Regions from separate parts of the Homo sapiens genome. Here region 2 is linked to region 1. The links are contacts of gene promoters, found by promoter capture Hi-C in human tissues and cell types (Jung and others, 2019). All regions are on one chromosome and are shown on one strand. The core of a region is centred on a gene start or on the middle of the fragment in contact, and the rest is flanking DNA. Distances in the headings are between cores, read along the strand shown.

Evidence for each region. The method cuts DNA at HindIII sites, captures the fragments that hold promoters and counts their contacts. A contact is called where the count stands out against the background at its distance.
Region 2: a contact is called between the fragment with the promoter of WNT10B here and a fragment that was not itself captured in region 1, in 1 of the 25 tissues and cell types used here (heart left ventricle).

What each region holds. Positions count from the first base shown.
Region 1 is chr12:49,271,129-49,276,580 of GRCh38, reverse strand. It overlaps TUBA1C (tubulin alpha 1c), which reads right to left. Exons shown (of 4, transcript NM_032704.5): 4 at 1,981-4,328. The coding sequence ends at 3,354. Among named protein-coding and RNA genes, the nearest start is that of TUBA1C, 8.8 kb to the right of the region's middle. RefSeq lists a silencer at 2,301-2,595. The HindIII fragment of the contact is 6,713 bases long and covers 125-5,452 here.
Region 2 is chr12:48,969,692-48,975,357 of GRCh38, reverse strand. WNT10B (Wnt family member 10B) reads left to right here and starts at 3,623. Exons shown (of 5, transcript NM_003394.4): 1 at 3,623-3,903; 2 at 4,789-4,902; 3 at 5,007-5,269. The coding sequence starts at 4,829. RefSeq lists silencers at 3,558-3,852, 5,320-5,399. The HindIII fragment of the contact is 13,431 bases long and covers 1-5,666 here.

The sequences.
Region 1 (5,452 bases), core at 2,232-4,731:
TGGGTCCAGACTTTCCATTCGTGCTCAAGGGCAGATCAGATGATTGTCAGCCACAAAGCAGTGACCTAGACCTTGGGGTATATTTGTTCTTGCTGCAGGCTAACTTCTATTCACTCTCCCTCCAACGCAGGAGGGGGAAATCATCTTTACAAGGACAAATGCCCCCCCAACCACTGGCACTTTGCTCTTCCAATTCCCCAGGCTTTATTCTACTGGAATATTTCTTCTCAGCTAAACTTTTCTCTCACCTTCTTTCACCCCAGACCTCTGTGGCTGCTTAAAGCTTTCCAACCTTTTTCACATCTTGGCACATGTAGAAAATAATTCATCTGTAAGGTGTACAGAGGTAAATGGAGGGGGCTACTCCTGGCCAGGGTGACTGGCCCCAGGGAGGATGGGTGAGTCAGGCTCTCCAGTTTCCACCATGTCATTCTAAAAGCCGAAGGGATCCTATATGGGCACCCTGAATCCTATTCTCAGGGCACCCTGCTTGGGAAATGCTGGTGTCATGGGGTGTCACACTCGCCTAAGCTTTGTGATTTATCTGCTCCTTTTCATACACGGGTGTCCCATTCCCATTTCCTCCAGTGCTTGCACTATGGCAATCAGCAGATCTCCTGGCCTGGGAAGGTCTCAAAATCCCCTCTGGCAGGCTAGCCAGCGTCTTCAAGGTTCACCTTCATTTCAGGCATCCCACCCCGCTCCCCTGCCCAGGCTGCAGGAAGAACCTGGCTCATCTGAGAAGTAGCAGTGGCTGAATTTGTGCTGGGGTCTTACCTTGCCCCGAAGGACATAAAACTATGGTTGCTCTCGACAAATGCTATATAAAACCATCCAGAGCACATAGTTGAGGCATCTCAGGCTGCAAAAGCATGCTGTGCTATGCACGCAGGTATAATATATACATTTAAAAAAATTTGAGACATAAAAAAAAATTTAAGGGAAAAAAATTTTTTGTCCCTTAGGCTGGAGGGCAGTGGCACGATCTCAGCTCACTGCTACCTCCACCTCCCAGGCTCAAGCAATCCTCCCACTTCAGCCTCTCAAGCAGCTGGGACCACAGACGTGCACCACCATGCCCAGCTAATTGTTTGTATTTTTAGTAGAGATGGGGTTTCACCATATTGCCCAGGCTGGTCTTGAACTCCTAAGCTCAAGTGATCCACCTGCTTCAGCCTCCCAAAGTGCCGGGATTACAGGCGTGAGCCATGGTACCCGGCCAAAAAAATGCTCAAAATAGACAGGGTCTCACCCTCTTGCCCAGGCACTGGTCTCAGACTCTTGGGTTTAAGCAATCCTCTCACCTTGGCCTCCCAGAGTGCTGGGACTGCAGCTGTGAACCCCAGCGCTGGCCTTAAACATGCACATCTTTCAGATGCAATTCTCAGAGCAAAGGGGCTAAAGTGAGCAATGGGTAAGGGATACAAAACACCTTTGGGAAAGAGATGGTAACTGGGTACACATCAGAATAAAGTAAGTCACGGAGGAGAGGTGAGTATGCCTGCAACTCTGCCCCCAGGGCCCATCTGCTACCACTCATTAGGCATTCCCACTCAGGCAAGCACCCAAGCACCAAAACTGATTCCTCCCTTCTGCATGAAGCTTCACCTTTTGGTCATTGTCCTTTCCCATTGCTTAGTTCAACTGAGTACCAGGCACCAAGCTCTCCAGCTACGTATAACACTCATGCCCCTTCACCCGTCTGCCCCCAAGAACCACGGTCCTCCAACAGGTGCTTGGAAAAAAGTCCAAATCAGAGAACTCACCCCTCTCCAATCTTTCCTACACATACATATTACTCCTACTTCAAATAATCTCCATGACATACAATTGGGTCAAATGCCAATACCAGAAAAACCGGTGACTGTTATTTTGTCTGACATTTCCACTTTCTCTAAACAATAACCCCTTTAGTACGAACCATCTTTGCCACTGTAGGTCTTAGCTAAGTATGGAATAAATCAGGATTCCAAGCCCTTCTCGTGTGACTAATACTTTATTAAAGACTGACAGCAATAGTTCTGGCAGTGTGGCTGGGCACTTGAATTTTGGCTCCAGCAGTTACTGTTATCTAACCCTTTGCTACTGTACATGTGGTCACATCAGACCAACAGCATCATTTGGGAGGTTATTAAAAAACGTATCTAGGGGCCAGGTGTAGTGGCTCACTCCTGTAATCCCAGCACTTTGGGAGGCTGAGGCAGGATTGCCTGAGCCCAGGAGTTCAAGGCCAGCCTAAGCAACATGGCAAAACCCCATCTCTACCAAAAAAAAAAAAAAAAAAAAAAAAAAAAATTACAAGAATCAGCCAGGCATGGTGGAACACACCTGTAGTCCTGGCTACTTGGGAGGCTGAGGTGGGAGGATGGCTTAGCCCAGGTCAAGGTGGGGGTGAGCTATGATGGTGCCATTGCACTGCAGCCTGGGAAAGAGACCATCTCAAAGAAAAAAAATTTAAGACGTGTCTGAAGCCTCACCTCAAGCCTATAGAATTAGAACCTGCATTTTGTTTTTAAATTTGAGAGTCAGGGGTCTCCGTCACCCAGGCTGGAATGCAGTGGTGCAATCATGGCTCACTACCTCAACCTCCTTGGGCTCAGGTGGTCCTCCCACCTATAGGCAGGTGCCATCACAGCATGCAAATTTTTGTTTTGGTAGAGATGGGTTTTCACCATGTTGCCCAGGCTGGTCTCGAATTCCTGGGCTCGTGATCCACCCAACTTGGCCTCCCGAAGTGCATGAGCCACCAGGTTGACCCCAAACCTGCATTTTAATATCTACAGGTGATTCACATCCATTTTAGTTAGAGAAGCACTGGCTCAATCTGAACCCGTTTCCTCACTTACAAAATGATTCTATAACCACTTAATTCAGGCCCAAATTAAACAGATAAACCAAGAAGCTGGGCAGTGGCTCATGCCTATAATCAAAACTTTGAGAGGTTGAGGCAGGAGGATCACTTGAAGCCAGTTGAAGACCACCCTGGGCAGCATAGCAAGGCCCCATCTCTACAAGAAATAAAAATAGCTGGGCATGGTGGTGTGCACCTGCAGTCCCCAGCTACTTAGGAGGCTGAAGCAGGAGAATCACATGAGTCCAGGAGCTCGAGGCTGCAATGAGCTATGTATTATCATGCCACTGCACTCCAGCCTGGGTGACAGAGCAAGACCCTCGACTCAGGTGGTTTCATCTACCAGCCTCATACATCCAACTTTAACTGGATCAAGTATTTAAGTCAGCTCGACATTTAAAATGGAAACTTCAATTTTATTAACAATTTACGGCAATAGACATTTACAGAACAAAAATAAGACAGTTCCAAGACAAAGGAGTGTAAAAGTACAGCACACAGGTTAATACTCTTCACCCTCATCCTCTCCGTCAGCACTATCTGCTCCAACCTCCTCATAATCCTTCTCAAGGGCAGCCATGTCCTCACGGGCCTCTGAAAACTCGCCTTCCTCCATCCCCTCACCCACGTACCAGTGAACAAAGGCACGCTTGGCATACATCAGGTCAAACTTGTGGTCCAGGCGAGCCCAGGCCTCGGCAACAGCTGTGGTATTGCTCAGCATGCACACAGCTCTCTGTACCTTGGCCAGGTCTCCGCCAGGCACCACAGTGGGAGGCTGGTAATTAATGCCAACCTTGAAGCCAGTGGGGCACCAATCCACAAACTGGATGGTACGCTTGGTTTTGATGGTGGCAATGGCAGCATTGACATCTTTGGGAACCACGTCACCACGGTATAACAGGCAGCAAGCCATGTATTTACCATGGCGAGGGTCACATTTCACCATCTGGTTGGCTGGCTCAAAGCAAGCATTGGTGATCTCTGCTACAGTAAGCTGTTCGTGGTAGGCTTTCTCAGCAGAGATGACAGGGGCATATGTGGCCAGAGGGAAGTGGATGCGGGGGTAGGGCACCAGGTTGGTCTGGAATTCTGTCAGGTCAACATTCAGGGCTCCATCAAATCTCAGGGAAGCAGTGATGGAGGACACAATCTGGCTAATAAGGCGGTTAAGGTTAGTGTAGGTTGGGCGCTCGATATCGAGGTTTCTACGACAGATGTCATAGATGGCCTCATTGTCTACCATGAAGGCACAATCAGAGTGCTCCAGGGTGGTGTGGGTGGTGAGGATGGAGTTGTAGGGCTCAACTACAGCTGTGGAAACCTGGGGCGCCGGGTAAATGGAGAACTCCAGCTTGGACTTCTTGCCATAATCAACTGAGAGACGTTCCATGAGCAGCGAGGTGAACCCAGAACCAGTTCCCCCACCAAAGCTGTGGAAAACCAAGAAGCCCTGAAGACCGGTGCACTGGTCAGCCTGCAAAATAAAAAAGTTTCATTTTAGTGTTGCGAAAGTTTCATTTAGTGTTCACATTTGGTGAAACCTACAGAGGACTTCTATAAATCTATGGCTACTCCAATTGCAATTTTAAAACTCTTCTGGGCCAGGCGCAGTGGCTCACGCCTGTAATCAACACTTTGGGGGTCCAAGGTGGGAGGACCATTTGCATTTGAGCCCAGGGGTTCAAGACTGATGATCAGGCCACTGCACTCCAGCCTGGATGACAGAGCAGACCCTGTCTCCAAAAAAAAAAAAAAGCTTTTAAGTGCTAAGTGATTCAGAACAACTTTTCACAATCAAGTCCTTGAGCAGAAAAACCTTTGCTAAGACTATTTTAAGATGAACTATTGCCTTAGGCAGAGGAATCACAAGGCCTGGGCTTGCATACAGGGCTCAAGTTTTGGTAACTGGGAAGGCAGCCTCTGGTTCTCTTGCTGTGGCCACAGAACAGGGCAGTTTCTTAGTTGGAGAGGTCCTAAGGGGCAGGCCCAGGACCACCAGCCTGGTACAGTGGATGTCTTGTAAAGATTTGGCAGCTGCTTTCTGAGGTGGAACAACAGAATAGCCAAAGTTCTAACACCCTGGTACTGGAGTCAGGCTGTGTCAGGATCCGGCTGTACCAGTTCCTTACTGTATGACCACATTCATTTCTCAGTTCTTCCACTGATTAAGTGAGAATAGTAATCACCTTAGGTTGAGAATTAAGTAAGTACTCAGCATAGTGCTTGGCACAGTAAGCACAGTATTGGCCCAGTAAGCCAATATATGACACTAGGTACCAAGAAGCCCATTTATTTTGGGTAAAGTGACACAACCACAATTCCATGAGACCTCAGGTTGTTGGGGATTTCCTCCACCTAACTGGGCTATTTTGGTTAGCAAACTGCTACTTTACGAAGGAATGATTTTGACCTTCCAAATAAAGTATTCTGTTGTAAACTCTTGCTTCTCCAAGTGATGGGCCTCAGATTTGTGAACATTCTCTACTCAGCTCCCTTATAGCCTGTGGGTCCATCAACTACATGAGATCAATGCACAGGGCAGACTCTCGCCTACCAATTACACCAGTTAAGCCTCCTGTGAGCACAGTAATGACAAGG
Region 2 (5,666 bases), core at 2,374-4,873, 300 kb after region 1:
TGCTCCATTTTACTGCAAAAATCAAAAGGGTTGATTTAATTACTAGAGCCAATTTCTTTCTTTCTTTCTTTCTTTTTTTTTTTTTTTGAGACGGAGTTTTGCTCTTGTTGTGCAGACTGGAGTGCAGTGGTATGATCTCGGCTCACTGTAACCTCCACCTTCCGGTTTCAAGCGATTCTCCTGCCTCAGCGTACCGAGTAGCTGGGATTACAGGCGCCCACCAACACTCCCACCTAATTTTTGTATTTTTAGTAGAGGTGGGGTTTCACCATGTTGGCCAGGCTGGTCTCGAACTCCTGACCTCGTGATCTGCCCACGTCGGCCTCCCAAAGTACTGGGATTACAGGCATGAGCCACTGCGCCCAGCCCAGAGCCATCTTTCCTAAAACAGAAGTCTGATTAGTTCATTTCTCTGCTCAAAATTTTCCAGCGAGACCCCATGTCACTCAAAGTAAAGGGGCCTCCTTCCTAGCCCTCCAGCTTCATTGCCTACCACTCTCTTCCTTGCGAATTTCTCCCCACTAGCCTCACTGGCCTCTTTTCTAATCCTTTGAACCAAGCATGCTCCTTTCTAAGGGTCTGTGCACCTGCTTTTCTGTCTTCTAAAATGCTCTTCCTCAGATCTCTCCATGTATTTGTTCCTTCAGTTTGTTTTCCCTCCCCCTTTATAAAATAGAATCCCACTACTAATCTCCTTTACCCTGCTTCATTTTTCTCTGTATCAGTTTTGACCGTGGATGACTTTAAAGGCTTGAAGTTGAAAATCAGTAGCAAACCACCCCCCTGGAATAGGGTTAGAGGTGAGATGTTAGAGGGGAGAGGGGCTTTGCCTTGACTTTGGGATCTGGGGAGGAAGCAGGGCTCCAGGGTTTAGAGTTTGTGGGCAGAGGAGCCTACCCTCCTTTGAAGCACCCGCAGGCAGCACTGCCCCCTTGGGCTGGGAAGGCACAGCCCATCCATTAGGCCTGAGTACAGAAGGGGGCAAAATTCTGTCTAAGGTAATCCCATGGATTTGTTGGAGTGGACTGCTGAAAGTGGGGCCTTCCTGAGAGTCCAGTATGCAGTCGGCCCGCAGACCCTTTGGTGCCTCCAGGTGGTGGCCTACGGTGCTGCAGCAGAAGGCGCATTAAGCGGAGGGTGGGCAGCGCAGCTGAGCTCACCGCCACGGGCGCATCCATCCCTCCTGGGCCTATAATTTGGGTTCCCCGGGTCTGGCCTCCCCTATCAGCGGCTCAGCAACAGATGAGTCACCCGGGACCCCGGGCCAAGGCAAACATGGGGGGAGGAGGAGGAGGAGGCTTCTGAGGCTTTAGCCACCGCCTCAGTTGCTCGACATCCCCCAATCTCCAGGGGCCCCCACTCTTTTCTTTGACCCCCGCCCTCCAGGGCCCCAGTGTTCTTCCCACATTGCTCTCGTTACACCCTCCATCCCTAGGATGGGAAGGGCAGCCCTCCACTCTTCTCATTGAGGGGAAGGGGAACCAGCTTGCTCCTAGTCCCTCCCTGCAGTGATGAAAGCCCCCCACTTTCCCCCTCCTGTCATTGGCCCTGACCCACGTCAAGGTCTCTCTGGTTCCCGTCCCTCCCCTTTCTTGGAGCTGGCCGCGTGCTTGGGGTATTAGGCAATGGGTGTGCACCCACAGCCCTCTCCAGGCCCCGCCTGTCCCACCGCCCTCTAGCCGCCTGCGGGTCAGTGCTCAGGCCAGCCGGTCGGGCTGAGGGCACTGCGGGCCAGCTCAGGCCACCCAGTCTGCCGGCCTGTGGCCTCTTGTCCCAGAGTTGGGCTTCAGTAGAGAGAAGGAGCAGGACTCTGGGTCCTTGGATTTGGAACAGTCCTGCTTGGGGAGACCTAGGGTCACCAGGAAGTTGAAACCTATTGTAGTAGTTCTGCCCCTCGCCCCTTCTTGGCACCTGGCTGTATGCTGGAGCCTGACAAGGGTAGAATCAGAAGGCAAAAAATAATCCCAAACCTAAGGGGGACCCAGAGACACATGGAGAAATACAAATGTCCATGAGGTCCCCATGGAGAAGAGAGGCTTAGGCAACCTCATTCCCCTCTTCCAAGGACCTGGCAGGAATCCCAGGGTGACTGCAAGAAAAAGGATAAGGACACTGGTGGGGATCATGAATCCAGGTGTAAGGATGAAAACTATGAGATGGGGCTTGCAGATTCTGGTGACCTCCAAAACCACACATGGTTTGGCTCTTGTCCTCTAAATGGGAAGGAGGGTCAGGAACTCTAGTGCTCCCACTTCCCCATCCCAGAGGTAGGGAATCAGAGAAAAGCAGTCTGGTCCAGGCTGTCCAGTGTCAGGGACCATGGCACTTTCACCTCCCCAGACTGCTCACAGCCTGGCACGTAAAGGTGATCTGTAAATATCCCAACAGATGTAAGTTTGCTCGATCTCCTGTCTCAGACTGCTGTGCCCGCTATCCAACAGTGACCCCTGCAGCACGGGCAGGACCTCCAGCAGCACAGACTGGAGGCTGGCTGCCCAGCAGAGCTGCAACGCCACCACCAAGGAAGAGGTGACTGTGGTTGTGGGTATCATCCCTGTTCCTCTGCTTGCTTGGGGGCAGTCTGAGTCAATGTGCCTGGGGCGCGTGGGGCCAGCCGTGCCTTGGGCTGCGGTCTGGCAGGGGCGGGGGGCGGCTGGAAAGCCTGGGGCCCCTCTCTGGCAAAAATAGCCCACAGTGGTTAGAGCTTCGAGGGTGAGTCAGGCGGGAGCACGGTGGCGCCTAACCCGTTCGCTGCCACTGGGTCTCCCTAAGGCGGTTTGCCTTTGCCTGTGCACCCCAAGACCAGGCTCTTTCCCGGCTGCCCTTGGGCTTGGCTCAATTTTGGATCCCAAGGCCCTCCTCATCCCATAAGAAGCAAGTCTACAGCTTGGAGCAGGAATCCAGGCCACCCAAAGTGCAGACCGGGGGAATCCCGAGAAGGGTAGGATACCTCTGTTGGCAAGCATCCCTGCCAGGCAAGGAAGCATCGGGGCAGGCTGACAATCTTTGGTGCTACTTGAACCTCTGCTAGGGCCAAACTCTGAGGCCAAAGCTGTCCCCTCCAAAGGGGCAGGCGCAGGGCTTGGAGGAGGGTGGGAACCAAGCTGCCCAGACGTGTGCTTCTCCTGCCCGCTCTGAGTACCCCGGGTGCGCTCAGGCTGTGGGTGCCACATGTGACTGTCCCACACCGAGAAGCCCAAAGACTGTCTGGCTCCATCCTCATCTTGTCAAAGGCACCTTCCAGCCACCCTGATCTTGGTGGAGAAACTGACGCAAAGAGGAGTGATGAAAGATGTGGCCATCTGGGCCCCATTCTGGCTCCCTAGGAAGGTTACTACACCCTCCCTGCAGCCTTGGCGACCCCAGATCAGGTGAGAGGAACTCTGGCCACCTCCTTCTTCAGTGGGGCCAAGCCTGAACCCAGGCGTCGGGGGAGAGGGTGTGTGAGAGAGAGAGAGTGTGTGTGTGTGTGTGTGTGTGTGTGTGTGTGTGTGCGCGCGCGCGCGCGCGCGCGCGCGCTGGGAGGAGGGGGAGGCTGCATTCGCCTGGTCAAGGCTGGGAGTGGAGGGTAGGGTGGGGAAGCCCCAGGCTCGGGGAGGGGCTGCAGCTCCGTCAGCCCGGCAGAGCCACCCTGAGCTCGGTGAGAGCAAAGCCAGAGCCCCCAGTCCTTTGCTCGCCGGCTTGCTAGCTCTCTCGATCACTCCCTCCCTTCCTCCCTCCCTTCCTCCCGGCGGCCGCGGCGGCGCTGGGGAAGCGGTGAAGAGGAGTGGCCCGGCCCTGGAAGAATGCGGCTCTGACAAGGGGACAGAACCCAGCGCAGTCTCCCCACGGTTTAAGCAGCACTAGTGAAGCCCAGGCAACCCAACCGTGCCTGTCTCGGACCCCGCACCCAAACCACTGGAGGTAATTAGACCTGGGAAAGCAGGGAGGGCAGGGACGTGCACACGAGGAAGAGACAGGCACGTGTGTAGTCAGACAGACAGACAGACACGCATCCACCCACAGAAGCACAGAGACGCATAGAGAGCCAGAGATATTGCTAGAGATAAAGACACAGAGAATAAAGGAGTGCCCCCAGATTTAGAATGCAATGAATGTGAGAGCCAAGGGGTGAGGACCAGACGGGCGACTATGGAGGAGGGGAGCTTGTAGTTAGGCAAGGTGGGGGATAGGGAAGAGGACTCAGTCTGTGCCACGGTCCCTTTTAGGAGGGAGCCAGGCTCTCCTCCCCATCTTTCCTGCACCTGGAGCCTCTCCTCTTTCCTTGCTGCTCAGGGAGGGGGCAGTGTGAGTGGGGAACTCATTCTTAGACCTTTCTCATGGAGCCTACTTGCCCTTGATGACACCTGGAGGTGACACCCCCTTAGGTGGTGGGGAACCTCCTCCCTATCCCTCTCCCTAGCCCTGTGAGGGCGGGGAAGCTAGTCGTGGGGCCCTGGAAAAGGGAGCAGTAGGCGAGGTTGTGGAGCAAGTGTTTGTGAGTCTGTGTGTCTGAGTTTGCAAGTGAGTGTGTGTCTGTGTGCCGGGCGTTGTGTCTGATTGGGCAAGGTTCCAGGGGTGCTCGCTTGAGTCCTGAGCTGGGACAACGCCTTGACTCTTCTTCTTTAAGACCTCCAAGCCTCAGGGACTCTGGGAATCAAGGGGTGTTTCTTCTTGTTTTGTTTGAGGAGGAATGAGAAGGGTCAGTAGGGTGGCACCGGTGGGTTAGGAGCCCGAAGAAGGGCGTCACTTGGTTCCCCAAGCGAGCCGCCCTATTCCTGAACCCGCATCAAGTCTCCCGTCCCGCAGGTCCTGATCGATCTGCCCACCGGAGCCTCCGGGCTTCGACATGCTGGAGGAGCCCCGGCCGCGGCCTCCGCCCTCGGGCCTCGCGGGTCTCCTGTTCCTGGCGTTGTGCAGTCGGTGAGCAGTTCCCCTTGTCTCCCAGGCCATAGAAACACCGACCCGGGGTGGGGAGAGTTGGAGGGGTCTGGACCGCAGACCCCAGACGCCTTCTTGGTTCCCAGGGCTCTAAGCAATGAGATTCTGGGCCTGAAGTTGCCTGGCGAGCCGCCGCTGACGGCCAACACCGTGTGCTTGACGCTGTCCGGCCTGAGCAAGCGGCAGCTAGGCCTGTGCCTGCGCAACCCCGACGTGACGGCGTCCGCGCTTCAGGGTCTGCACATCGCGGTCCACGAGTGTCAGCACCAGCTGCGCGACCAGCGCTGGAACTGCTCCGCGCTTGAGGGCGGCGGCCGCCTGCCGCACCACAGCGCCATCCTCAAGCGCGGTGAGCCTGGCTGGGCGGGTCGGCGCTGCCGCGGAGGCTAGGGGGTGGGCGGCAGGGCGAGGCGCGCGGAGGCGGGAAGGGATGGTTTCGCGGCTCCGGGAGGGGCCTCTCCTGGAATTCCCCGCCCCCCCCGGAGCCGCTCTGAGCCAGGTCTGGCCACTCGTCTGGGCCCCTGCGCGCCTAACTTCCACCTGCGTGCTGCCAGCGAGGCAGCTGGGTCCCTGCTCTCCTACCCTAGGGCCCCCCTTTCCTGCCTCCGCTCAGCTTAATCTGGGTTGCACCTGTGAACAAGAGATGCCCCCAGTCCTGGAAGCTTCAAACGCCCCCCTATTCCCTCCACCATTTTCTCTCCCCCCATCTTGGCTGGACAAGCCCAGGCTGGTGTCCCCAGTGTCTC